Regions from separate parts of the Homo sapiens genome. Here all the other regions are linked to region 1. The links are contacts of gene promoters, found by promoter capture Hi-C in blood cells and fetal thymus (Javierre and others, 2016). All regions are on one chromosome and are shown on one strand. Each heading gives the region's core, a stretch centred on a gene start or on the middle of the fragment in contact. The rest is flanking DNA. Distances are from core to core; before and after follow the strand shown. Region 1 holds the start of DYNLRB1 (dynein light chain roadblock-type 1). Region 2 overlaps NCOA6 (nuclear receptor coactivator 6). Region 3 overlaps NCOA6 (nuclear receptor coactivator 6).

Region 1 (3,631 bases), core at 400-2,899:
TATTTATTCAAAGGAACGGAAATTAGTACATCAAAGGCATCCCTACATCCTCATGTTCATATTGCAGCACTATTCATAATAGCTAAATTATGGAATTAGCGTCCATCAATAGGTAAATGGATAAAGAAAATGTGGGCCAGGCGTGGTGGCTCACGCCTGTAATCCCAGCACTTTGGGAGGCTGAGGCGAGCAGATCACGAGGTCAGGAGATCGAGACCACCGTGTTGAGGCGGACTAACACGGTGAAACCCCGTCTCTACTAAAAATACAAAAAATTAGCTGGGCGTGGTGGTGGGCGCCTGTAGTCCCAGCTACTCGGGAGGCTGAGGCGGGAGAATCACTTGAACCTGGGAGGCGGAGGTGGCAGTGAACTAAGATGGTGCCACTGCACTCCAGCCTGAGCGACAGAGACACACTCCATCTCAAAAAAAAAAAAAAAAAAAGAAATAATGAATGTTTAAGGTGATGGATATTCTATAATAAATATAGCCTGATTTGATCATTACACATCATATGCATGTATCAAAATATTACATGTATATCTACAACATAAATGTGTACAACTATTATATATCAATTTTTTTTACAGCTTAAGAAGTGATGTGAAAAATGAAGTTATACATATTTGAAGCATTATTACATGTTTGTAATGATGTGGAGATATTGTGGTGTAATAATGAAAAACACAGAACCCACAATTGCACATTCAATAGGGGCTAAACTGTATAAACCAAAAACAAGCAAAAAAGACTAGAAGTCATATGACTACTGTAAGTGGTTGCCTCTAGGTGATGACACGGTTTCTTTTTTCAATTTTTTTATTACAAGCTCTAGATTTCTAAATAAGATTTTTGAAAAAGTAATATATTCACATGGCTTAAAATTTGAAACTTTTTCAAATTTTGCCCAAGCTGTGAGGATTACAAACACAAAACCTGTAACGGCGTTGAGAACCCACAGCTGCAGCAAGCAAGGTAGAAAGCAAGCTTTGGGATCCCCAAGAGCAGACCCCGCCCGTTCCTGACTCTGGCACCCAGTCCCAGCGGCTAGAAAGAACCACGCCGACAGAGTGGCGGCCGTCAAGCTTCTAGGGTTCAAATCCATCTCCACTATTTCCTGGGGCAAAGCACTTGGCTTCTCGGGGCGCTGAATAACAGATATGTATAACAAAATGGGACTAAAGATTGTATCTACCTCACAGAGCTGGGAGGAGGCGGAGGAAATACAAGATACATAAAGTGCTTGGCAGAGCCTGCCACAAACTGAGCTCCCGGGAAACGTTGCCAGGGTTGCCATCGCGCACCAAGGCCCCAAAACTCTAGGCTGCAGGGCCGCCGCCCACCCCTCGCCCATCATCTCTTCCTGGCCGAGGCTGGGCTCCCGCTTCCGGTCAAGGGGCAGCGGGATCCGGCGGCCCCGCCTCGGTCAGGCTTTAGAGGCCTCCGCCGCCGGGTTCCACCCTCAAGTCGGCTGGGGCCCGGGCCCGGCCACGCCCAGCCACCACCGATTCCCTGTCCGGAGCTCTGAGATCCCCTCATCCTCGGAAGACTGAAGGCCTGGCGTGGGGTGGTGGGCGGCCGCCAGCCACAAGACCCCGGCGCACGCTCACCATTTCCGACCGATCCGGTAGCCCCGCGTAGCGAACACTTAGCGAGTCCTGTGCCTTTCTGCGCCTGCGCAAAGGTTTCTGTCAAAACGGACAGCTCTAGCTGCCTATCAGGAGCCAGCGTGAGGCGGGGGCGGGCGAGCCGATCTTGGCTCCGCCAGGATTCTTGGAAAATCTGCTTTCCACTGTGGCAAAGCGAAAAGCTAAGGAGCAGTGCGCTAAGCTGTGGAAAATTCCCAACTCCAGCCGTGCAGAAAAGATGCTGGTTCTGGCTGGACGCGGTGGCTTACGCCTGTAATTCCAGCACTTTGGGAGGCCGAGTCGGAAGGATTGCTTGAGCCCAAGAGTTCGAGACCAGCCTGGGCAACATGGAGAGACCCCTTCTCTACTAAAAAATAAACAAAATTAGCCGGGCGTGGTGGCGCGCTCGTGTAGTTCCAGTTACTCCAGAGGCTGAGGTAGGAGGATCGCCTGACCAGGAGTTCGAGGCTGCAGTGAGCCGAGATTGCGCCACTGCACCCCAGCCTGGGCGACAGAGCAAGAGACCCTGACTAAAACAAAACAAAACAAAAACCATGCTGGTTCTCGGTATCGGAAGAGGCTTTCAGTGCTGGTTCTCGGTATCGGAAGAGGCTTTCAGCTCTCAATGGAGGTCTAAGCTGGTTCTGGAGTCCCTGAGTGGAGCGTGGTGGGAGGGTATGAAGGCAAGTGGGACGGTTGCTGAGACCCGCTTTGCGCCCAGACTGAGCCAGAGAGAGGCCCAGGGCCAAAATGCGCTTCGGGATCGGGCAGGCCTGGGGTGGGGCTGGAGTCAGGTACCTCGAGTCTCCGGGTAAGATGCCGTGCAAGCTCGGAGATGAATTGGTTAGGGCTGGCCTGGGAGTCTTTAGAATCCGAGCTCAGCCCCGCCTCGCGTTACCTAGCAGAAGGCACTTCACATCTGTGTGTTCTGTCTTGTTCTCACCTCTGAAAGGGGGACTCTTCCCAGAGCCCTATGTTGTCCTGTTCCGGCAGGCCGCAAACGTTTCTGGGTCCTCTAGGAGTAAATAACTTCTGTTAAAACATGCTGCCGTTTAGTGAACCCTGTGCCACATTACTGTGCTGAACACGCACATAACGTTATCTCCGGTAGCTTCAGGGAAGTATCGGTAACCTCGATACTTTATAAATGCTGTTTCTCCCAGGCACTGTAGCTTGCTGGATTCAACGATGATCTAACTCCAAAGTTTCATTCCACAGTAGCTGCTCTTCAGTGAGGAAGGATTTGGTTCTCCTTCCAGGAGTGTCTGCATGTTAAGAGGATTGACTTTACTGCGAAGAAACCTAGCAGACACCACCGTAACCAGATCAAAGTTAGTATTACTGGCAAGGGGAGATATTGATGCCGTGTGCCCCGATAAAAATGCGTTAAGGGCACATCACCTCCGAGTCATTTTCCACAAAAACTCCCAGCCTTAAACCATGAGAAAATTTCACTAAATCCAGTGTGAGGGATGTTCTACAAGATACCTGTACCCCGCCCCCGCCCCCCAAAATCTCAAAGTCATGAAAGCAAGGAATGAATGCGGAACTGTCACAGATTAGAGGAGTAAGGAGAAAGAAAAATAACATGGGTGGGAAAATTGGTGAAATCTGAGTAAGGGCTGTAGTTTAGTGTTATTTTTACCAGTGTTAATTTATTAGTTTTGGTAATTCTAGCATGGTTATATGGGATCATAACATTGGAGAAAGCTGGGTGAAGACTGTGCAGGAACTCTTAACCATTTTTGCAACAGCTCTGTAAATGTAAAATTATTTCAAAATAAATTTTTAAAAGGACTGGATCCAAAGGAATTTCTATTGAATGCTGGAAACATTAGGAAAGCATTTAGCAAGGGGAAGAAGTGCTGCAGAGACTGGACCCTAAAACATCCTGGAAGATAAGCACTGGAAGAATCACCACTGTCTTGCCCATGGAGAACCAGACTGAGAGGAGTGAAAGGATTTTAACAGATTACAATCCCAGAAGCAAAAAAGAGAATGGCC
Region 2 (3,502 bases), core at 838-3,337, 210 kb before region 1:
GTGTGGTCTCGGCCCTGTCATCTCCCAGCCTCATCCCACTTCCCTTAGCAAGTCGGACATGCCGTCCTCATTCCTCTGATCACAAGCCTGTGCATATGTTGCAGCTACTGCAGGGAGTGCTCTTCTCTCTGCCCACCTCTCTTCTCCTTAACGTCCCACCCTTCCTACTTATCTTAGCTCAGTTGTCACTGCTATGGGGAATCACAGCACCAGGTTCTTCTTCATAATACCACAGCTATAACTATGCCAGTTTGTGACATAGGTAATTAGTATGTATACTTGGTTAGGGCAGGAGATTATGTCTGATTTTGCGAACTACTGTATCTCTGGTGCCTAGTATGGTGCCAAATACAGAGATGTACCAATCAGTAATTATCAAATGAATAACCATCTATCAAATATGTATTAAATATTTACTACATGTCAGGCCCTGAGGTTATAATAGTGAAAAGACAGAGCCTCAGCCACGTGCAGTGGCTCACGCCTGTAATCCCAGCACTTTGGGAGGCCGAGGCAGGTAAATCACCTGAGGTCAGGAGTTCGAGACCAGCCTGACCAACATGGTGAAACCCCCTCTCTACTTAAAATACAAAAATTAGCTGGGTGTGGTGGTGGGCGCCTGTAATCCCAGCTATTCAGGAGACTGAGGCAGGAGAATTGCTTGAATCCAGGAGGCGGAGGTTGCAGTGAGCCAAGATCGCGTCATTGTGTTCCAGCCTGGGCAACAGAGTGAGACTCCATCTCAAAAAAAAAAAAAAAGTCTCTGTCTTTACCACATTGAAAGACGAATTCTAATACTCTGTGTTAAATGTTAAATGCTATGATAGCAAAATTACATGGCACTATAAGAGCATATAGCTGAGATACCTTGCTCTTCTGCCAGGTCAGAGAAGGCTTTCTAGAAAAAAATGACATGACATTTAAGCTGAGACCTGAAGAATGAGGAGGCAGTGACCAGATCATTCTCTTAGGAAATGTGCTGAGCTTGAGTAGTTCAGTTTGGGTAAGGTAAGAGCTGGGATCCTGGCTGAGTTCCTGATTATCAGCAGGACTGCTGAGAAACGGTCAAGTATCATTGGGATGCCAGCCTAAAGACCAGGCAGATTCTGGTGCACCCACACTAGACACTAGACACGGATCTGAGGACTCAGCTGCTGTTGGCAGGTTATGTCTCTAGGCAAGAATGTCACGATGCCTCACAAGAGCCTCTGGGAATAGGCCAGAGGTCATATACAGTTAAAATTGAGGTGTACAAAGTACCATCACCATACTCAGCCTGCTGGAGAGTTAAGGGGCAAAGGTGAGAGAGGCCTTCTTTCTTTTCCAGGAATAGTGTATACACCACAGTCAGGGTCTCTTAGGTATCCTCATTTTAGGTGGAGATATGAAGCCAATAACTTCATTCCTCCTCTCTGGGAATCATCTCTAGGCAGAAACTAGTTTGGAAGGGAGTACACTTTTCAGTATATTGAAGTACTACACTTAAAGCATAAAAGGGAACATGCCTAGAGTTCTATGGGAAAATCTGCTTCCCCTCAGTTCTGCATGTTCTTGTAGCCTTTCACTTTCCCAAAAGAGTAAGATCTTCTAGGCTATAGAATATGGTATGTAATTACCTTTAAAGCGGGGAAAAGGTATTGGCCTTTAGAGATGTCACACACCAGATTTTTGGAACCTTGACCTCAGCCCAGAGCCTCAAGGTACTAAAGGGTTATTTACAGGGCACCAGAAAGAATCTAAGAAGCAACTGGGACAGTTAAGAAGAGATGCTCAAACTAGAACCGCTCTGTAGAGAACTACCAGCCAAGAAGAGATGGAAAGCTAGAACCTGTTTTTAAGGGGTGTTGGGGATGGGGAATAAGCCTGTACACTTAAACTGAACATTGTCCCACCGTGGCAGTGGTGATGTTGGAAAGCCTGGCACATCCTTGCTCTGAGGCTTAGCAGTTGGCTTAGAAGAGGCCATAATGACTCTCAGGCTTTGTGATCTTGCATGGAGGGGTGCTAAGTGTCTCCCTAAAGAATGGCATAGCTCTGGCCTGTCCCTGGAATCACAGTCATGTATAGATATCCGCATCAGTCGCAAGACCTCAGGCCATCATTCTCTAACTGTCTCTGGTTAAGTTACTGTGTATGAGTAGAAAAACAGACTCAGTTTCTCCTGCTATACTCTCACAACACGCTTCTGACACAAGATGTAAGGTGTTTTTTTCCCCACACATCAAGCAAGTCATCAGTTCTGCCTCAGACACCAGCTGGGTGTCCTCCAATTCAATTCTGACACTATCTGCCTGGAGATAGTATCAGATCCACAGGTTTGAGGGCTCAGTCCCACAAGACTGCTGCCCACTTCCAATGCCAGGTGCAAGCCCCAGGTTGTTTTACCTGTGCTTCTGACTAGCTGGCTAAAAATTGGAGTTTCCATGAACCCCTCGTAACCAGGTCCAGTTAATTTGCTAGAGTGGCTCATAGAACTCAGGGAAACATGTTTACCAGTTTATTATACAGCTTTTTCTTTCGTTTTTTCTTGCTTTGTTTTGTTTTGTGACAAAGTCTCACTCTGTCGCCCAGGCCAGAGTGCAGTGGCACAATCTCGGCTCACTGCAACCTCCACCTCCCAGGTTCAAGCAATTCTTATGCCTCAACATCCCAGGTTGCTGGCATTACAGAGGCTTGCACCACCATTCCTGGCTAATTTGTGTGTGTGGGTGTGTGTGTATTTTTTTTAGTAGAGATGGGGTTTCACCATGTTGGCCAGGCTGGTCTCGAAGTCCTGACCTCAAGTGATTCACTTGCCTCGGCCTCCCAAAGTGCTGGAATTACTGGTGTGAGCCACTGTGCTTGGCATTTTTTTTTTTTTTTTTTTCATTTGAGACAGGTTCTTACTGTGTCACCCAGGCTAGAGTACAGTGGCATGATCATGGCTCACTGTAACCTTGAACTCCTGAGTTTAAATGATCCTTCTGCCTCAGCTTCCCAAGTAGCTGGAACTACAGGTGTGCATCACCATGCCTGGCTAATTTTTTAATTTTTTTGTAGAGATGGGGTCTCCCTGTGTGCCCAGGCTGATCTTGAGCTCCTAGCCTCAAGTGATCCTCCCACATTGGCCTCCCATATGAAAGTTTTTTTTTAATTTTTACTTTTATTTTATTTATTTATTTATTTATTTTTAGACGGAGTCTCACTCCATCGCCCAGGCTGGAGTGCAATGGTGTGATCTTGGCTCGTTGCAACCTCCGCCTCCCAGGTTCAAGCAATTCTTGTGCCTCAGCCTCCCAAGTAGCTGGGATTACAGGCGCGTACCACCACACCCAGCTAATTTTTATATTTTTAGTAGAGATAGGGTTTCACCATGTTGGCCAGGCTGGTCTCGAACTCCTAACCTCAAATGATCCACCTGCCTCGGCCTCCCAAAGTGCTGGGATTACAGGCATGAGCCACCATGCCCAGCCGGCTTTTTCTTTTGCTTTTTTTTTTTTTTTTTTTTTTTTTTTTTGAGACA
Region 3 (3,849 bases), core at 791-3,290, 240 kb before region 1:
AGTAGAGACGGGATTTGACCATGTTGGCCAGGCTGGTCTTTGAACTCCTGACCTCATGATCCACCTGCCTTGGCCTCCCAAAGTGCTGGGATTACAGGCATGAGCCACTGTACCCAGCAAATTCATGTTTTTTTATAGGAAGTTTTAAAACAGGCCAGGTGCGGTGGCTCACGCCTGTAATCCCAGCACTTTGAGAGGCCGAGGCAGGTGGATCACTTGAGATCATGAGTTTGAGACCATCCTGACCAACGTGGTAAAACCCTGTCTCTACTAAAAATACAAAAAACTAGCCGGGTGTGGTGGCGGACGCTTGTAATCCCAGCTACTTAAGAGGCTGAGGCGGGAGGATCACTTGAACCTGGGAGGCAGAGGTTGTTGCAGTGAGCTGAGATCACGCCACTGCACTCCAGCCTGGGCGACAGAGAGAGACTTCATCTCAAAAAAAAAAAAGTATGTTTTAAAACAATGACAAAGTCATTTCTCATTCTTGTACCCTATCACAGCTATTTTGTGTTTTTATATGGTACCTTCCACATGTACATGTTTTTTGTTTGTTTTCTTTGTGTGTGTTTTTTTTTTTTTTTGAGATGGAGTTTTTGCTCTTGTGCCCAAGCTGGAGTGCAGTGGCGCAGTCTCGGCTCACTGCGGCCTCTGCCTCCCAGGTTCAAGCGTTTTTCTGTTTCAGCTTCCCAAGTAGCTGGGATTACATGCCCTGCTATTTTTTTAATTTTTAGTAGAGATGGGGTGTCACCATGTTGGCCAGGCTGGTCTCGAACTCCTGACCTCAGGTGATCCACCCACCTTGGCCTTCTAAAGTGGTGGGATTACAGGCCTGAGCCACTGTGCCCGGCCCACGTGTACATGTTTTGGTTTCCCCATTTATCCTATCTAAAGTAGCTCTACTCTTATCTCTTACTTTCTCTTCTCTCACCCTACTTTCTCTTGTTAGCTTTTACTGCTTCCTGAAAAAATACTTGTCTGTTTGTTAGTTGTGTCTCTTGCCAGTTAGACTGTAGGCTCCAAGGATGCAGGGATTTGGTCTGTCTTGTTTATTGATGTTACCTCAGCACCAAAGTGCCTTCTATGTATCAGGTACTTAATGAATAATTGTCAGTTGAATGAATATACACAGTATATTTATTGTATACAAGCATATACAATGGTCATGGAGTTCCACTTTGAGTTTATAAGGCTGGTTTAGAAAATCTTCCTTAGAGTTCAGGAGAAGTCTGGATAGTGTGAACAAGGTAGTTTGCCCCCTGCCTTCATAGTTGGAGCATGGACTGGCTTCATAACTTCATTGTAGGGGATTTTCTAGTCCCCATTTAAAAGTGAAAAATAAGGCCAAGTGCGGTGGCTCAGCCTGTAATCCCAGCACTTTGGGAGGCCAAGGCGGGTGGATCACCTGAGGTCAGCAGTTCGAGACCAGCCTGACCAACATGCTGAAACCCTGTCTCTACTGAAAATACAAAAATTAGCCGGGTGTGTTGTTGTGCGCTTCTAGTTTCAGCTACTGGGGAGGCTGAGGCATGAAAATCACTTGAACCCAGGAGGTGGAGGTTGCAATGAGCCGAGGTTGCACCAGAGCCAGATTCTGTCTCAAAAACAAAACAACAAAAAAAGTGAAAAATAAAAGGGACAAAATTAACTACAAAGTTATTCAGTTAAACGGGGAGATAATGCAAGTAGCTATAGGAAAATCCCAAAGACCCAGTAAATAAATAAGCACTACAGCAAGGCGGGTAGCAACTTTTGTCTAAGTTAGAAATAGCTGAGAAGACTAAAACATGTGCCACATGATTCACCAGGGACTGCGCAGGAGAGGGTCACTGAGGTTTTATTATTCCTCTATTTGCAGCTTCCAGATGGGTCATCTAGTCAGTTGGCTCCCACCAGAGGCTCAGCTTCCAGATCAAGATTAACTGCTTTTTACCACATCAGGGCAGAGGACACCTGTCCTTGGTGTTATTTTCTTTGAAGTGCAGCATCCACATATCACACACATAGCTTTTGAGAGTCATTATTATTACAGTTTTCCAAGAAGCATTTTTAAATGTCTTCTCATGATTGTTGAGGTTTTCCTAAGAGGACACTTCACATTCTTTTTTTTTTTTTTTTTTTTGAGACGGAGTCTTGCTCTGTCGCCCAGGCTGGACTGCGGACTGCAGTGGCGCAATCTCGGCTCACTGCAAGCTCCGCTTCCCGGGTTCACGCCATTCTCCTGCCTCAGCCTCCCGAGTAGCTGGGACTACAGGCGCCTGCCACCGCGCCCGGCTAATTTTTTGTATTTTTAGTAGAGACGGGGTTTCACCTTGTTAGCCAGGATGGTCTCGATCTCCTGACCTCGTGATCCACCCGCCTCGGCCTCCCAAAGTGCTGGGATTACAGGCGTGAGCCACCGCGCCCGGCCGACACTTCACATTCTTATAGCAGAGTTATTTCAGTAGCCCATAGTGCTTTTTGAATTTAATTTAATTTAATTTTTTGAGACGGGGTTTCACTCTGTCACCAGGCTGGAGTGCAATGGCATGATCTTGGCTCACTTCAACCTCCACCTCCCAGGCTCAAGCAATCCGCCTGCCTCAGCCTCCCAAAGTGCTGGGATTACAGGCATGAACCACCCGAGCCTGGCCACTACAAGTCATTTTAAAACAGTGAGATGCTGCCTTTCTCATTATTTAATCTGAAAGAAAGTAAACTTTCTTGATCTTTGAAACGTTAAATCTTTAAGATACCATATGGGAATGTAGAAACTGTTTCTCCTTCTCTATTATATGGTCATTGGGAATGTAAGCAGTTATCCCACAGCCACATCTTTGTAGTTTAGAAAACTCACAGGAAGTATGTCAACAGCATATTTATGTTGGTCAGTGGATATAAGGGTGATGGATGTCTTTCTGAGTAATGTAACTTGAGTATCTTAATACCAATAAGATAAAAATATTTATTTCTGAAACTGTGACTTTTTTTTTTTTTAAGGTGGTCAAGGAGCTGGTCCTCCTCAAAACCAGATGCAGGTGTCCCACGGGCCGCCAAATATGATGCAGCCCAGCCTCATGGGAATTCATGGCAACATGAACAATCAGCAGGCTGGTACTTCTGGGGTTCCTCAAGTGAACCTCAGCAACATGCAAGGCCAGCCCCAGCAGGGCCCACCATCTCAGCTGATGGGCATGCACCAGCAAATCGTGCCCTCCCAGGGCCAGATGGTCCAGCAACAAGGAACCTTGAACCCTCAGAACCCTATGATCCTTTCAAGGGCCCAGCTTATGCCACAGGGCCAGATGATGGTGAACCCCCCGAGCCAAAATCTTGGGCCCTCGCCCCAAAGGATGACCCCACCCAAGCAGATGCTTTCCCAGCAGGGCCCACAAATGATGGCGCCACATAACCAGATGATGGGGCCTCAGGGGCAGGTTTTGCTCCAACAGAACCCAATGATAGAGCAGATTATGACCAATCAAATGCAGGGGAATAAGCAGCAGTTTAACACTCAGAACCAGTCCAATGTCATGCCGGGACCAGCCCAGATAATGAGGGGACCAACTCCAAACATGCAAGGAAATATGGTGCAGTTTACGGGACAGATGTCAGGACAGATGCTGCCCCAGCAAGGGCCTGTGAACAACAGTCCATCTCAGGTTATGGGCATTCAGGGACAGGTCCTGCGGCCACCAGGGCCCAGCCCACACATGGCCCAGCAGCATGGTGATCCTGCTACTACAGCAAATAACGATGTCAGTTTATCTCAGATGATGCCTGATGTTAGCATTCAACAAACCAACATGGTCCCCCCTCATGTGCAGGCCATGCAGGGAAACAGTGCCTCGGGAAACCACTTCTCAGGCC

What was found. The method cuts DNA at HindIII sites, captures the fragments that hold promoters and counts their contacts. A CHiCAGO score of 5 or more calls a contact.
Region 2: a fragment that was not itself captured here is called in contact with the fragment with the promoter of DYNLRB1 in region 1 in 1 of 17 cell types (neutrophils); the score reaches 6.0 in neutrophils.
Region 3: a contact is called between a fragment that was not itself captured here and the fragment with the promoter of DYNLRB1 in region 1, in 1 of 17 cell types (megakaryocytes). The highest score is 5.3, in megakaryocytes.

Annotation. Positions count from the first base shown.
Region 1 is chr20:34,514,440-34,518,070 of GRCh38, reverse strand. It overlaps DYNLRB1 (dynein light chain roadblock-type 1), which reads right to left and starts at 1,649. Exons shown (of 4, transcript NM_014183.4): 1 at 1,610-1,649. The coding sequence starts at 1,612. RefSeq lists enhancers at 1,118-1,297, 964-1,829, 2,218-2,457, 2,568-2,627 and a silencer at 1,648-1,757. The HindIII fragment of the contact is 8,760 bases long and covers 1,087-3,631 here.
Region 2 is chr20:34,722,049-34,725,550 of GRCh38, reverse strand. The region is part of intron 14 of NCOA6 (nuclear receptor coactivator 6); the gene reads left to right. Among named protein-coding and RNA genes, the nearest start is that of TP53INP2, 19 kb to the right of the region's middle. The HindIII fragment of the contact is 4,180 bases long and covers 1-3,502 here.
Region 3 is chr20:34,749,650-34,753,498 of GRCh38, reverse strand. NCOA6 (nuclear receptor coactivator 6) reads left to right here. Exons shown (of 15, transcript NM_014071.5): 9 at 2,980-3,849. Among named protein-coding and RNA genes, the nearest start is that of TP53INP2, 47 kb to the right of the region's middle. The HindIII fragment of the contact is 5,391 bases long and covers 1-3,849 here.